Regions from separate parts of the Homo sapiens genome. Here region 1 is linked to region 2. Evidence: promoter capture Hi-C in 16 types of primary human blood cells and fetal thymus (Javierre and others, 2016). All regions are on one chromosome and are shown on one strand. The core of a region is centred on a gene start or on the middle of the fragment in contact, and the rest is flanking DNA. Distances in the headings are between cores, read along the strand shown. Region 1 overlaps PARD3 (par-3 family cell polarity regulator). Region 2 holds the start of NRP1 (neuropilin 1).

What was found. The method cuts DNA at HindIII sites, captures the fragments that hold promoters and counts their contacts. A CHiCAGO score of 5 or more calls a contact.
Region 1: a contact is called between a fragment that was not itself captured here and the fragment with the promoter of NRP1 in region 2, in 1 of 17 cell types (megakaryocytes). The highest score is 5.6, in megakaryocytes.

Annotation. Positions count from the first base shown.
Region 1 is chr10:34,387,025-34,393,762 of GRCh38, forward strand. All of the region lies in intron 7 of PARD3 (par-3 family cell polarity regulator), which reads right to left. Among named protein-coding and RNA genes, the nearest start is that of PARD3, 420 kb to the right of the region's middle. The HindIII fragment of the contact is 6,396 bases long and covers 1-5,296 here.
Region 2 is chr10:33,330,461-33,336,981 of GRCh38, forward strand. NRP1 (neuropilin 1) reads right to left here and starts at 4,207. Exons shown (of 17, transcript NM_003873.7): 1 at 3,850-4,207; 2 at 248-422. The coding sequence starts at 3,922. The HindIII fragment of the contact is 8,759 bases long and covers 1,804-6,521 here.

The DNA of each region.
Region 1 (6,738 bases), core at 849-3,348, 1.1 Mb after region 2:
CACAGCTGTAGTTAAAAGCCACCACTATAAACCAGACACACTTTGGAATGTGTATGCTTTCAGTCCTTGCAATAAAAATATGCCCTACCAAGACTCACTCCAGTTAATGAGTTTTTAATTGGTGAAATCATAAGCGATTTCCCAATATGACTACAATATTACTGCAAATGTAAGTGACTAACAATTAGTATGTTTTTATGTATTATATTTTGTGTAATCTAAAATAGTCCATAGAAAATTTTTACAAAAAATATATATATAAACGGTCTTCAATGGAAATTACTTAGCAGTTAATTAGCACCGATCATTTATTTAAATTTATGAAACTATCTTGGATACATCCTTTCAGTATTTATGACAACTTAAAACAGTGTAACTTATAAATCCTTTCACTTTAATTTTTTTTGAGACAGAATCTTGCTCTGTCACCCAGGCTGGAGGTATACTGGGCTCAATCACAGCTCCCTGCAAGCTCAAACCCCGGGGCTCAAGCAATCCTCCTGCCTCAGCCTCCTGAGTAGCTGGGATTAGAGGTGTGTGCCACGACCCCTGGCTAGTTTGTTTGTTTGTTTTGTAGACTTGGGTTCTTACTATGTTGCCCAGGCTGGTCTTGAACTCCTGGACTTGGCCTCCCAAAAGTATTGGGATTACAGGCTTGAGCCACTGTGCCAGCTGAAATCTGCTCTTTAATTCTAGAAGTAACATCAATAATTTTTTTCAGATAAGTAGATGAACAGATTTATATTCATCTCATAATTTTTCAGTTTTAAACCTATGTGTTTTTTTTCTGGTAATCATTCTAGACTAATAATCCAAAGTAGAAAAGCATGTAATGTTCCATTTCTTGAATGGTTGTCTTTCTAAATAAGTCCTCATCAATGGCCAAATGCATTAGCAATCCTAACATACAGTAGAAATTCTACAAATCATAAATACACCACACACGTATAGAAACTATAATGGAAATTTATTAACTGAGGCTTTAGCAACCAACATTGTTATAAGTCATGAAAATCTCAGATCTCAGATTCCTTTTACTCAGTACAAGAGACCTGATGGGGGGCTGGGAGATAGAGGGTGGAAGAAGACTGCAGAAGAGAAAGAACATCACCCTGACTGACACAGCAAGAGATGAGGGAATCAAGGGAACAGACTGAATTAAGGTGAAGTTAGTAGCCTGCTGATTTCTAAGTACTTAACCACACTATTAGAATCATTCTCTCAAAAAGAATGGATTAATTTAAAAGGAAAGTGGTACAATCTGCAAAATTATCTCATTTACTCCACTAGGTGAAAATGATTGCAAAGGAATGGGAATGAACTATCAAAAGAAAAAAAAGTCACAAGAAAATCCAACTGATAACAGCTAGACTGAGAATGAAAAGAACCTCCGAAGGAAATCAAAAGTAGTAAGAAGAGACACTTTCCTGAAAAATGTGTGCTCGCGAGCAGATACATTTCCATAGCCCTCATTTGCAACTTAAAGCTGTATCAAACAATATAATTAAAAACAAATTTTAGGGATATATTTTGCAAACTCAACTAGAAATCAGAATTTGTTCTAAAGTAATAAAGAACCAACTGCCTATGGTATGGCTGCTGCAACAGTTTTATTAGAGAAAGTAATCAAAGCAAATGAAGTTCTAAACATTTTGGCACGTCAGTGTGCTGGTAGAGAGAACAGTGTTCCTTCTTGGCAGCTAATACCAGAATTCCTTATTGGGTCAACCATGTTCCATCCTAAGAAGAAACCACTTTGCAAAAAATAAAAGAGGTAGGTGTCAGGAAAGGAGGCATTGGAGTAAGCTCTGTTTGGGGAATGGTTCCAAGAGCAGAACAACCCCAGATTTGTTATGCTAGGACAAAAGACATAAGAGAAAAGAGTTGGGCATTTATTAGTGGGGTGGCGCAGATTTAAGAAGAAATGATTATAGGGTTTAGGGTTATGTGAAACAGAACCTCCTCTACCTTCCTTATGAATCTAAGATAAACCCTACTTGGCTTTATGCTTTTCAAGCAAATGGATTTTTCCTGATGGAGCTGAAACATCCCCAAATCTATTCCTCTTCTAGTCTCCTATATTTTCTTCAAAATTTGAAAAGAAGAAAACACTAGATCCGCTGCATACAAATATCACTTCTGAATAATTTTCCTAATACAAAAGTATGTTACATGCATATTTCTTTCAAGACTTCGTTTTTGAACAATGTTTCTTAAAAAAAAAAAAAAAAAAAAAAAAAAGACAAGCTAGGGTACAGTAGCACAAAGCGAGCCATTGAAATGCTGCTTCTTTGTACATGATTTTGGATGCATAATTAGAATTTAACTACTTAGATTATATTAAGGATTGCACCACTACATTTTTACAAGGTTCATTAGCCTAATTATACACTTAATTAAAACAAACGCAGTCACACATGTTAACATTTTCAATTCTAAGTATAAATTACAACCAATGATAAAACTGAAAATAAGTAACAAATGTTTTATTGACATCCAAATTGGCTGAGTAAGTCTGAGTTTTGCGTTGATAATGTAAACTACCACAACTGCCACCCAGCTGTATGGAAATGATTATAATTCATCTTAATAAAGGTTGACACAGTATAAACATCACAACGGTAGGGAAGGCAGAATATGAGTGGGCAGAATAGGGTCTCATCAACAAGAACCGCTCAGCTCCCTGAGTACAGCCCATGGGGGGCCAGCAACTACCTACATGAGCCCAGAAAGTACTGCCACTGAAAGCATGGACACCAAAAGGAGAAAGTTTAAAGGAATGCCAAGTTAAAACTTTAAATCTTAATTTTTTTTTTAGAAAAACTTCAATGAATGAGATAAATCAGGCCAAAAAGGTAAATAAAAATGGAAAATTCCTTTAGATTACAGCAGAAATCACAGATGTCATATTGCTATATATAAAGAGACATGATTCATGTAAGTGTAAACTGCAACTTGTCTCTCTAAAACCAATGCGTATGTTATAGTTCTTTATTATAACAAATGAGTCTGCGGCTGAGAATGCACAATTGAAAACTTTCAGACAAAAGACTATTGATTCAGCAAATAAAGTTAAATTGCGTTTTTTTCAAAAGTTATTAAATTAAAATTGAGTACTCAAAAGTTCAAGAGCATATTTATTCTCAGCTAGTTTGTGAAGCTCAAATTGACTGTAATTCTTCATTAGCATATGTACCCAATTAACTAAACAAATGTGTATTGGGATTCTCAATTTTACGACATAATAGTAAATTTTCTCCCAGATTCATGATATAAGAGGAAAATGATCACTTTCTCTGATTGGGTAGACTAATCACTACCTACCTAGAATACCAAGCACCAGAATACCAAGCACCACTGGAGGGAATTTCAAGGCACATAACAAAAGATAAATTGAGTATAAAATCTCTTCTCATGATTTGATCATTCTTATTAGCTGCCACTGCCAAGGACCTTGCTAAATGATTTACATATATTTTCTTATTTAAACCATACAAAAGTCATGATTCCTATCCTTCATATGTAAGGAGTAGGGCTAAGTGAGGCTAACTTGCCCAAGGCCACACTACGTAAAAAATACTGAGCAAGGTATCCTTCCCCAGTCCTGACAATCCCCGTGCCAATAAAACGAGGACAACATAAGGTCAAGTCAGTCACTGACTGACACAGAGAGGTAATACAAAATTCCCAACTCCAAATCTGGGGAAAATAAATTGCGTTTTCAATACATAATAGAGCAAAAAATGATAAAGAATATCTTAGATGAACAAAAGGGTATAACAAACAATATAGTTTTTTTTGTGTGTGTACACATTTAGTTTTATTGTAACAAAGCAACTTGTACACTTTTAACGTTTAAAACTGAGCATCATCTTTCCTTTCCAGCGAAACAAAAAGAAAATTTAAAAATATACAGGAACAAAATTACAATAGAGAATGTCAATTCCAAATAAGATCCTACAGGTTCTGCTGACTCCCCCATTGAGTGGCAGGGCTCAAGTCATCATTAGGACAGAATTTATTTTAAAAGTGTCATCTTAAACTGCAAGGATGTCTGTCAAATATCACAATTAAACATGCCAAAGGAGAAGCCATGTTGTCAAAATGCCCACTTAACCCACCCAAACATCTCAAACCCACCCTTTGCTGACCTTCTATAACCTCATTTTTTTTTTAGTTTTTTTTTTCTTCTTTTAAACAAGAGAAAGTAGACAGATACATGTTGGTAAATGCTAACTGTCCATATTCACATAGAGACACAGTGTACTCTCTGAGCCCAATATACAGAGAAAGGAGGAAAAAAGCTAGAATTCTATGCACTACTGCACAGGGGCCTAGCGCCCTCCAGCTTCCAGCAGAGCGAAGGGAGAAGGTTTTTCTTTTTTCCCACAGAGCTCGGTGGTGTTGATTCCATACAGTTTTTGTTCAGACAGGAAGGGATAAAAATGACAAACAATATAATTATAATCATGTAAATCTTAGTTGAGGGGAGAGTGAAGCTCAGATTCTGCTGAATTAAATGGATGAGTATGGTATGTCTCAAGACCATCCAAAGATGTTTGACTACTAGTCTTGTAGACAGAGAAACATCAGTTTATATTTGAGGGGGAAATTATTCAAGACATGAATGCAGGATGTAAAAAACAAACTTTTATATTTCAGTGATTTTCTGAATATAGATTAATTACAAAATACAATCTGCATATAGATTATTTTAACCACCTTCTAATTAATCTATATTCAGGTTTAAATAGAATGCAAATAATAATACTTATGAAATACATATTTTCCAACAGGGTCACTTTTATTTCAACTCAAAAACGCAAAACATTAAAAATATTCTCCTAGTGGCCAGAAGTGATGGCTCACACCTGTAATCCCAGCACTTCGGGAGGCCGAGGTGGGTGGATCACTTGAGCTCAGGAGTTCCAGATCAGCCTAGGCAACATGGGGAGACCCCACCTTTACCAAAAATACAAAAAATTAGCCAGGCATAGTGGTGTGTGCCTGTGGTCGCAGCTACTAGGGAGGCTGAGGTGGGAGGATCACTTGAGCCTGGAGATCCTGCCACCGTACTCCAGCCTGGGTGACAGAGTGAGACCCTGTCTCAAAAAATATAAAGAAAGAAAGAAAGTAAAAAAAAGAATAAATCAATTTTAAAAATAAAAAATATTCTCTTAGAGATGTGATTTCATTTTTCAGCTTCATGATGGAATTTATGGACAATAATGTAACTAAGCAAATAAATAAAGAGGGGAAAAGTCATAAAAATAAACTTTAACACAGAAATTGAAGAAGCTTTTTCCAAAGGATGTTGACACTTCACCTGATATTCTGAATATTGTATTGAAGATAAACAGATGAAAAAAATTATTTGGGATAAAAATCAAAGTTAATCAGACAAATCAAATGATGGCAAATCTGTAAAAAGTAAGTTGAGAATAAATTAATAAATAAGATATCTGCCAACATGAGTCAGTAGCAGAAAGCCAGACCCACACCCAGAGTCCCTTCATTTCCCTCACCACCATCTTCACAGGGCCTGATTTTCTAACTGTGAAACTTTAGATTTTTCCTTAAGTCTTATGATTGACAAGTAGATGTTAAGAAGGATTGTTCTGTGAGTACATACTACTAATGAGAGTATGGTAAATGGGCTTATATGGTTTTTTTCAACTTCCCTTCTTCCTGAGAATCAAGGACATGCACTGCTGGGAATTAATATGTAGTTACAACAAAAGAGGCTTTCTTATCAAACAGTAAGTGGAAATCAAAATCCTGTACACTCTTGTCCCCCAAAGATATGAATAGAAAACAGAGGTGAAGAAGTTTTAGACATGAAAAATACTAGAATGTAAAACCATCATGGCAGCCATTTTTATTTGTTTGGTTCCCTAGGGCAAGGGCTGACAACTGCAGCCTATGAGTCAATTCAGCCAGCAATATGTTTTTGTAAATGAAGCTTTGTTTATATCTTGTCAATGGTTGCTTTCATGCTACAATGGCAGATTTTCTGGGCCATGATGCCTAAAATACTGATTATCTGACCCTTTACAGAAAGTTTGTGAATCTTTGATCTGAGATATCAAAGGCACCAAAAATGCTAACTAGTAGATACTAGATCTTAAAAAAAAAAAAAAAGTGTATATAAACACCAACATACAATTACTATTTTCACAAGGAAAAGTAATGTGAAACAAATTTAAGTGCCACAGACTTAAGAATAAAGGTAGATGTAAATAAGTGAGAAATGTCCATTATAGAAAAGATCCAGGCCAGGCAAGGTGGCTCATGCCCGTAATCCATGCACTTTGGGAGGACAAAGCTGGCAGATCACTTGAGCCCAAGAGTTTGAGACGAGACTGGGCAACATTGGGAAACCTCATGTCCACAAAAAATATAAAAAATTAGCCGGGCATGGAGGCACTTGCCTGTAGTCCCAGCTGCTTGGGAGGCTGAGGTGGAAAAATCACCTAAGCCCGGCAGGTTGAAGCTGCAGTGAGCCACTACTCTCCAGCCCGGGCAACAGAGTGAGAAGCTATCTCAAAAGGAAAAAAAAAAAAGATCCAGAGAAGAAAACTTTAGGCCAGGTACAGCCGCTCACACCTGTAATCCCAGCACTATGGGAGGCCAGGGTAGCAGGATCACTTGAGGCCAAGAGTTTGAGACCAGCCTAGGCAACAAAGCAAGACCCAGTTTCTACTTAATTAATTAATTTAAAATGTTTTAGCCATAATT
Region 2 (6,521 bases), core at 2,957-5,456:
AACCAAAAGTGCTAACAGGAAGGAGTATAAGAGCTTACACATTTAACTATAATCTTCCTGGTTTGGGGAACTCAGAAATCACTTAACGTACTTCAATTTCCATACCATTGACATATAATCTGGCTGAGATTGGAATCCCTCCTGGATCCATTTATAATCTACATTGTACACACCGACTTCCCCCCCGTAGACAGGCGTGACCACTAGATGGTGCTGTGGTGCCCTGTTCAAAAACATTCCCACTTACTTGCAGTCTCTGTCCTCCAAATCGAAGTGAGGGTTGAAGTTGATCATAATTCTCTGGTATGGGTCCGGAGCCTGAATCAGCCATTCGCATTTTTCACTTGGGTGATAAGAATGAGGATAACCAGGAGATGTAAGGTACCCGGGGCTTTCAATTTTTATAGTATCGCCACATTTATCTGCAATGAAAGTAAGATTTTAGCAGATCTTTCCTGACAACCTGTTAGGTAATCTAGCTTTATATGTAAATTACTGGTTATTAAACATTCCTTAACTTTTTAAGGGGAACTCTAAAAGGTCCCCGTAAGTCCTTCGTGTGGCTCTGAGTGCAACACTCCAGGAAAAAACACTCTTTGATCTCAGGAAGGTTGACTCAGGCAGAAAGCCAACTGAGATCTGAGAGGACTCTTCCCCCCAGCCCCGAAGTTTCTTCCTAAGGAAAAGGTCTTCTAGCATTAAAAACATTAAATCCCCTCAATTGATGTTAACATGGTCCCCTGGGAGCTTCTGCTAGACTTAATTATCCCCCAAGAAGTGTAATCACATTAAGTAGCAAGTTCTAAGTGGAAAGTGACTGAAAGATGCTGTTCGACCCCTTGTGTTGTTTTTTGATGATAAGCCTGGTCTATGTCATTGATCAGTGGGGATTGTCTTTGATTGGCTTAAAGCCAAACCTTTTGTTGTTGTTGTTTTATCTGCCCATAAATCTAAGTGATTTTGAGTTATCTCTGCTCTTGAGATCCAAATCAACAGAGAACAAAGTATATTTGGTGAAGCAGAAATAATTCTGCTTTACTTCTCCAAGTAAAGTTGTTCAAGCTTGGAGATCGGATCAAAGCAACGGGGCAGAAGGAAAAGTAAATAGCCACATGGCATTAATTCTAATTACCTAAATGTTGGGTGAAAAATAACCCACCACACAGGTCTGGGTATCACATATGGTAACCCACATTCTCACATTCTGGGAAAGGTGAGCTAAGTAGTTTTGAGCCTTCATTTCAAAAATGCTCAAGTGAAGCCAAATAAACCAAGTAAACCAGTCTCTGGGCTGCCTATATTGTTCAGCATAGATTCTCATTGTCACATTTTATGATGGATTTCATACTGGAGCACCTCAGCCTGAAATGCTGCCACATTTATTGATGCTTAATTTTGAGCAATAAAAATTCGGTGCATAAACTATATAAGAGAAACGGTATGAAAACAGTGAAATATATAAGCCTATCAATCACAAATTTTCAGTAATGGTAGATGTAGATTTTAACACTGCATCTAATAGATTCCCTGTGGAAAGAGAATGGCATTCTTTGCTCTCAGCATGAATTTATAAATCTACAGAATTTTATTACAGGAAAACCAGGTCAAATGGAAATGAAAGATGAAGTGCACATCAAAAATGCATAAAGCTACATGCATTACAGAAATCATTTCCCATAAATTAAAAAAAGAAGACAATATAAGTTATATTGTTTTTCTCAATCGCTAGGTGCTTCTGACTTTGTTCCTTAGACTGGGGGTAGTCTTATGCTGGTTTCCTTTGCACTGGCTTGTAAAAGTGTAAGCTTTGCCAGGAAGAAATGATGTTGCAACTGGAGTTCAAAATCTCAGCTAATGATCATGTTGGACTCTGTTATGTGATTCTGCTGAGACTCTTGCATTATTTTGAATGTGCAGAAAACTTGGAAAGTGACCTCGTCTCATTAAGTTTCCTCTAGCTCTGGACAAACATCATGGTAGTGTCTGGCATCTGTTACAGGAGTGAAATAAAACAGCACTGGTTCTAGTCACTCGACAGAGTCACTTCAGAAGACATTTAGGTGGACTTGGTACCACACCAGAGCTCTTTAATCTGTGACTTCTGAGAAAGTGACAGTGTAATAAGATAATGTGGACTGCTAGACTCCCTGGCTCTGTTCAATCTCTCTAGCAGTTGATTAAGAAAGAGCAGTTTCTAATGACTCTGGACCATTAGTCCTAAATAAGGTTAATGAATTAATTTAGCAGACACTGGTTACTCAGAGGAGGTGGACATGGCTTTGAGAGGTCTGCTGAGTTACAGAGGCATTTTCTGGCTCTGGTCACTTCAAGCATAGCGACATGGCTTTTGCTGGTAAAGCTCAACAACTAAAGCCAGATTTTCAGCATTCCCCAGATTTCTGCTAAGAAAACTAAGAAGTGTGTGTGTGTGTGTGTGTACTGCATATATATTTGTGTAGTTCACAACCTAAAGTCTGATAGCTCTTTGCATTGAGCTTCAAATCTATCTTGTGAACACCCCCACTATGGATTTAGTCTCAAGAGTTGTGGAGGACAGGGTTACTATAATTTCTAGTCCAACCATTTGAGCTCTTTCAGTTGGACGAGAATGCTATTTCATTCCCTGCCAGAGTATAGAAAGATGCTACCAGCTCAGGTTCATTAATAAATTGAATTCTACATTCATAATTTTTTGTGTCTTGCTTTCCTGCCAGATTATAGAAAAATGCCATCAACTTGGGCTCATTAATAAGCTGAATTCCATGTTCATAATTTTTTTTTTTGCATGTGTTTTGCTTTAAGCATCTCTTAAAATACTGCTTGGTAGCTGCTGAGGGAAATCCATTGCTAAAATCACAAAACCTTGAAAAAGCATATTAGAGAGATTAACTTCCATCATAAAGATGTGATTTAAATTCCTGTTGGTATGAGGCCCTCCACTTGCGGTCTCTTATTAAAACAATATACCACAGTAAGTAGTGGATGTTCTTTTCTTCTAATTACTGTGATTGAAATCTAAGCCAGACAAAAGTAAATATTTGATCATTAGTTAATAACAATTGCTGACGACTTACTGTAAAGATAATTGCATACCCTTGCCTGCACTTACTTTACAGTGTGAAGTCAAACATGCCTACAACCAGATCCCATTTTAAAACACATTATTTAGGTTACATGGTACTGTTTAGACCCCAGTATAGTTTTTCATTTACTTAACAGTGAGTGATTTTAAAAGCTAAGTGGAAGCTGCAACTAGCTTAGGGATTTTCAGATATCCTGGTGCCTTACACTGTATATGTCAGATTCCTGTATTGATACTATGTAACTTTCAGTCATACTCCAGACAGATTACGGAAGGTGTACAAAGGCGGGGGAGGGAGTTTCATCAACCCACAAACCGATATCTCTGGCCGTCACCCACCAGAGGAAACGGCTTAGGGGAGCAGCAAAGGAACCAGGAAGTAAGATCTCCTGGTAAAGTGTTCATTAACTTTCAACAGCCATCAGATTTTTGAAAGGGAGTCTCTTCTAATTGCCTTTGGGAGGAAACATTATTAAGATAATTGGCATGCTGATCTGGGAAGGTAGACAGCTCTGTCTTGTAACAGAGGTAAGGAAAAGCCCCACAGCCCAAGGATCAACGTCAGGAGGGAGCCCAAAGACCTGAAATCCTCCTGCTCTAAACCGCCTGATCTCATTTCTTCTTCTCTCCTCCCAGATAAAAGTTTCCTTCGCCCGGGAGTCGGTTGTTCCCGGCTGATCCCGGGAAGCCCCGCCTGAGCCCCGGTCCGGGGCGGGCAGCTGGGAGCCGGGGCGCCGCTGTCACCCGCGCCTCTGCCTGTCACTTACCGTTGCGAAAAGCGCCGGCCGGGGCGAGGACGAGGGCGAGCACGGCGCAGAGGAGCGGCAGCCCCCTCTCCATTCTCCCTTCTCCGGGTCCGCAGGCAGACGCGGGAGAACGAGGACGTGGGGGGAAATGCAGCAAAGAGGAGAATCTAAGCGATCCGAAGAGCCCCAACTCCGCCTAGAGCTGTACAATCCTCAGCCCGTCTTGGAGAAAAGAAAGCAGCGAGGCAATGCCTGGATCCGAGAGGAACGCTTCTCTTTTTGTGTCTCAAGTCGCCTGCATCCTGTCATTTAGCTCCGGCTTCCTCTCCCTTTTCCCACACTTGTTCCTCTTCCAGGAGCCACTGCCCGGGCCATGTCTCAAAAAAAAAAAAAAAAAAAAAAAAGGCCGGGGGGGGGCTGTGGGTGGGAGGGGGAGGAGGGAGGTAGGGCAACACACACCAAAGCCAATTTCCAGGAAGAAAAAAAAAAAATCCGGCTTGTTTCTGGACCCGTTGGAGCCGCGGAGCTGGCGCCCAGGGGAGGTCCGGGTGTCTGCGGGAAGGAGGGGAACGAGCAATGAAAAGATGAGCGGGAGACAGAGGAGTTTCACCAACTGCACCCCCGCCTCCCCTCCTGCGGCCTCCCCCCACTCCGGAGCCCTTCCCTCGCTTCCTCCCGCCCCTCTCCCCGCTTGGGCTCGCCTGTAATTGCCTGACAGGAGACTGGGAGGAACAACTTTCCCTCCGAGTGCTCTCCCCGTCCGTCTGTCTGTCTTTCCCAGAGACCCTGCAGGGATCTCCGCGGGAAGGAAGGCGCTGGGAGTCTGCGCCCCGGTCGCGTGGGTGCGGGCGTCGGAGGAAGGGGCGCGGAGGTCAGTGCCAGCCGCAGGGTCTGGCCAGCCCACCTCGCGTGCTCGCTCTGCACCCCTAGAGGGAGAGCTGGGCAGCTCCTGCAGGCGCAGATCCCGCCGCCGCGCAGTGCGGAGCGCCCGGGAGGTGGCGGCTGCTTCTCGCAACTTCAAATCCCGGGGCCCGCGCCCTCGGCGGCGAGGAACGCAGGGTCACCCCCTGCCACTCCTCATCGCGCCATCCTGAGACCTGTGGCGGGGAGCAGCGGGGCACCCCTGGACGCCCCTGCCCAGAGCTGGAGGGCGAGGAGGGGAAAGCCGGGCTGGAGTGGGAGCCGCACCGCGAAGCCGGGCGAGGGGCAGCAGTGTCGCTGTGGTGTGAAGCGAAGACAGACCGCCTGGGCGGGCGAGGCCGGGCTGCAGCCCCACGCGGCCTCCCTGGCCCGCATCAGGGCGCGCGGCTGGGTGCCCTCTGCGCGCCGCGGAGGCTTCATTGTTTCCCGAGATTTGGTGCCCGTTCCTCTGGGGCAGAGGGAACACCGGAGGGTGGGAGGTGCTGCGCCTTCCAAGCAGGGGGGCAATCGCCGCCCGACCCCGCCCAACCTTGTCTGGGAGCCCAGGTGCTAGGGAGGGGTGTGGAAATCAGGGGTCGGGCGGCCCCCGTTTCTCTGTGCATCCCGAGGGAGGGAAAGAGTGGCGGGGGAGGGGTGCTCTTCGCTGCGCCCTCTCAGTGTCCGCTCCCGGCCACAGACAACGTGCACGCCGGCCCTGGAGCTCCTGCCACCCCCACTTCCCACAGCGGCTCGTGCCCCCAGCCCGCTGGATGCCCCCCAGGCCCGTCCCCGAGGGTTTTCCGAGAAGTGCTGCAGGAAGCGTTTGTAGATGCGAAAAGCAAGGACATTTCTGGGAAGAAACAGGTTGCGGTCACCGATCAGGCCCCGGAGAAGGGTCAGTGCCCACGGGGCACCTCCCAGGGAGTTTGTGGGTAAGGTGAAAAGGTCACACGCCTCCTGGGGATTGGCGTCTACACACACAGCCAAAGTACAGCCTGATTCCTACCTGGCACAAATAGCTGGCCAAAGGGAGGTAGGAATGCTGGCAAGGAGACTCTGGTCAAAGGTTTTGGCGGAAGAAAAAGGGGCGGGCAGGGAGAAAGCCCAAGGCGCGCGGGCCCCAGGCCAGGACTGCGCGCTCGCGACTCGGGCTGGGAGCAGTGACGTGCGCCCCTCGGGGTGCAGGCCGTTCCCGGGCCAGTGGGAGGTGCACCCACGGAGCCCGCACTCGCCACTCTCTTGCCCCGGGTCAAGCCTGTCTTCTCCTCCCCACGCGCCTCGGGATTCCCAGTCGCCAAGTTGGAAACTCGGCCCCCCCGAGCGCCTCTTTCCTCTGCCAGTTTCCTCCTTCTTCTCAGCTGTCGGACCCCTGGGAGGCGCGGGGTGGGAAGTGGGCACCGAAGGGCTGGGAGTTAAATGCCTAAGTTGAGCGGAAGGAGCACTGTCGAAGCCATGGGCAGCCCTGCGCCCGGGCAGGCGGGCAGGCGGGAGGCGAGGCGGGGGCGCCGACCGCGCCCAGCGCAGACCCCGGGGGAGTGAGCGCCGCAGAGGCAGCCTGGGCTCTCGGCTACTACCCGCGCGCGGTCGCCGCCTCCCCAGGTGCAGCCCCGCCAGTCCCAGCCCCCGGCTGCGCCGGGCGAGCGGCATCATCAGATTTAGGGTGACCCGGAGCGACCTCGGTCCAGGCTCGGAGGGAGAGGCGCCTCTCAGGACCTGGCAGGTTGACAGGGAAGGGGAACCGGGAGGGAGCGGCGGCCGGGGCGGCCTGGAGTCTCGGAGGCCCGCCTGCGTCC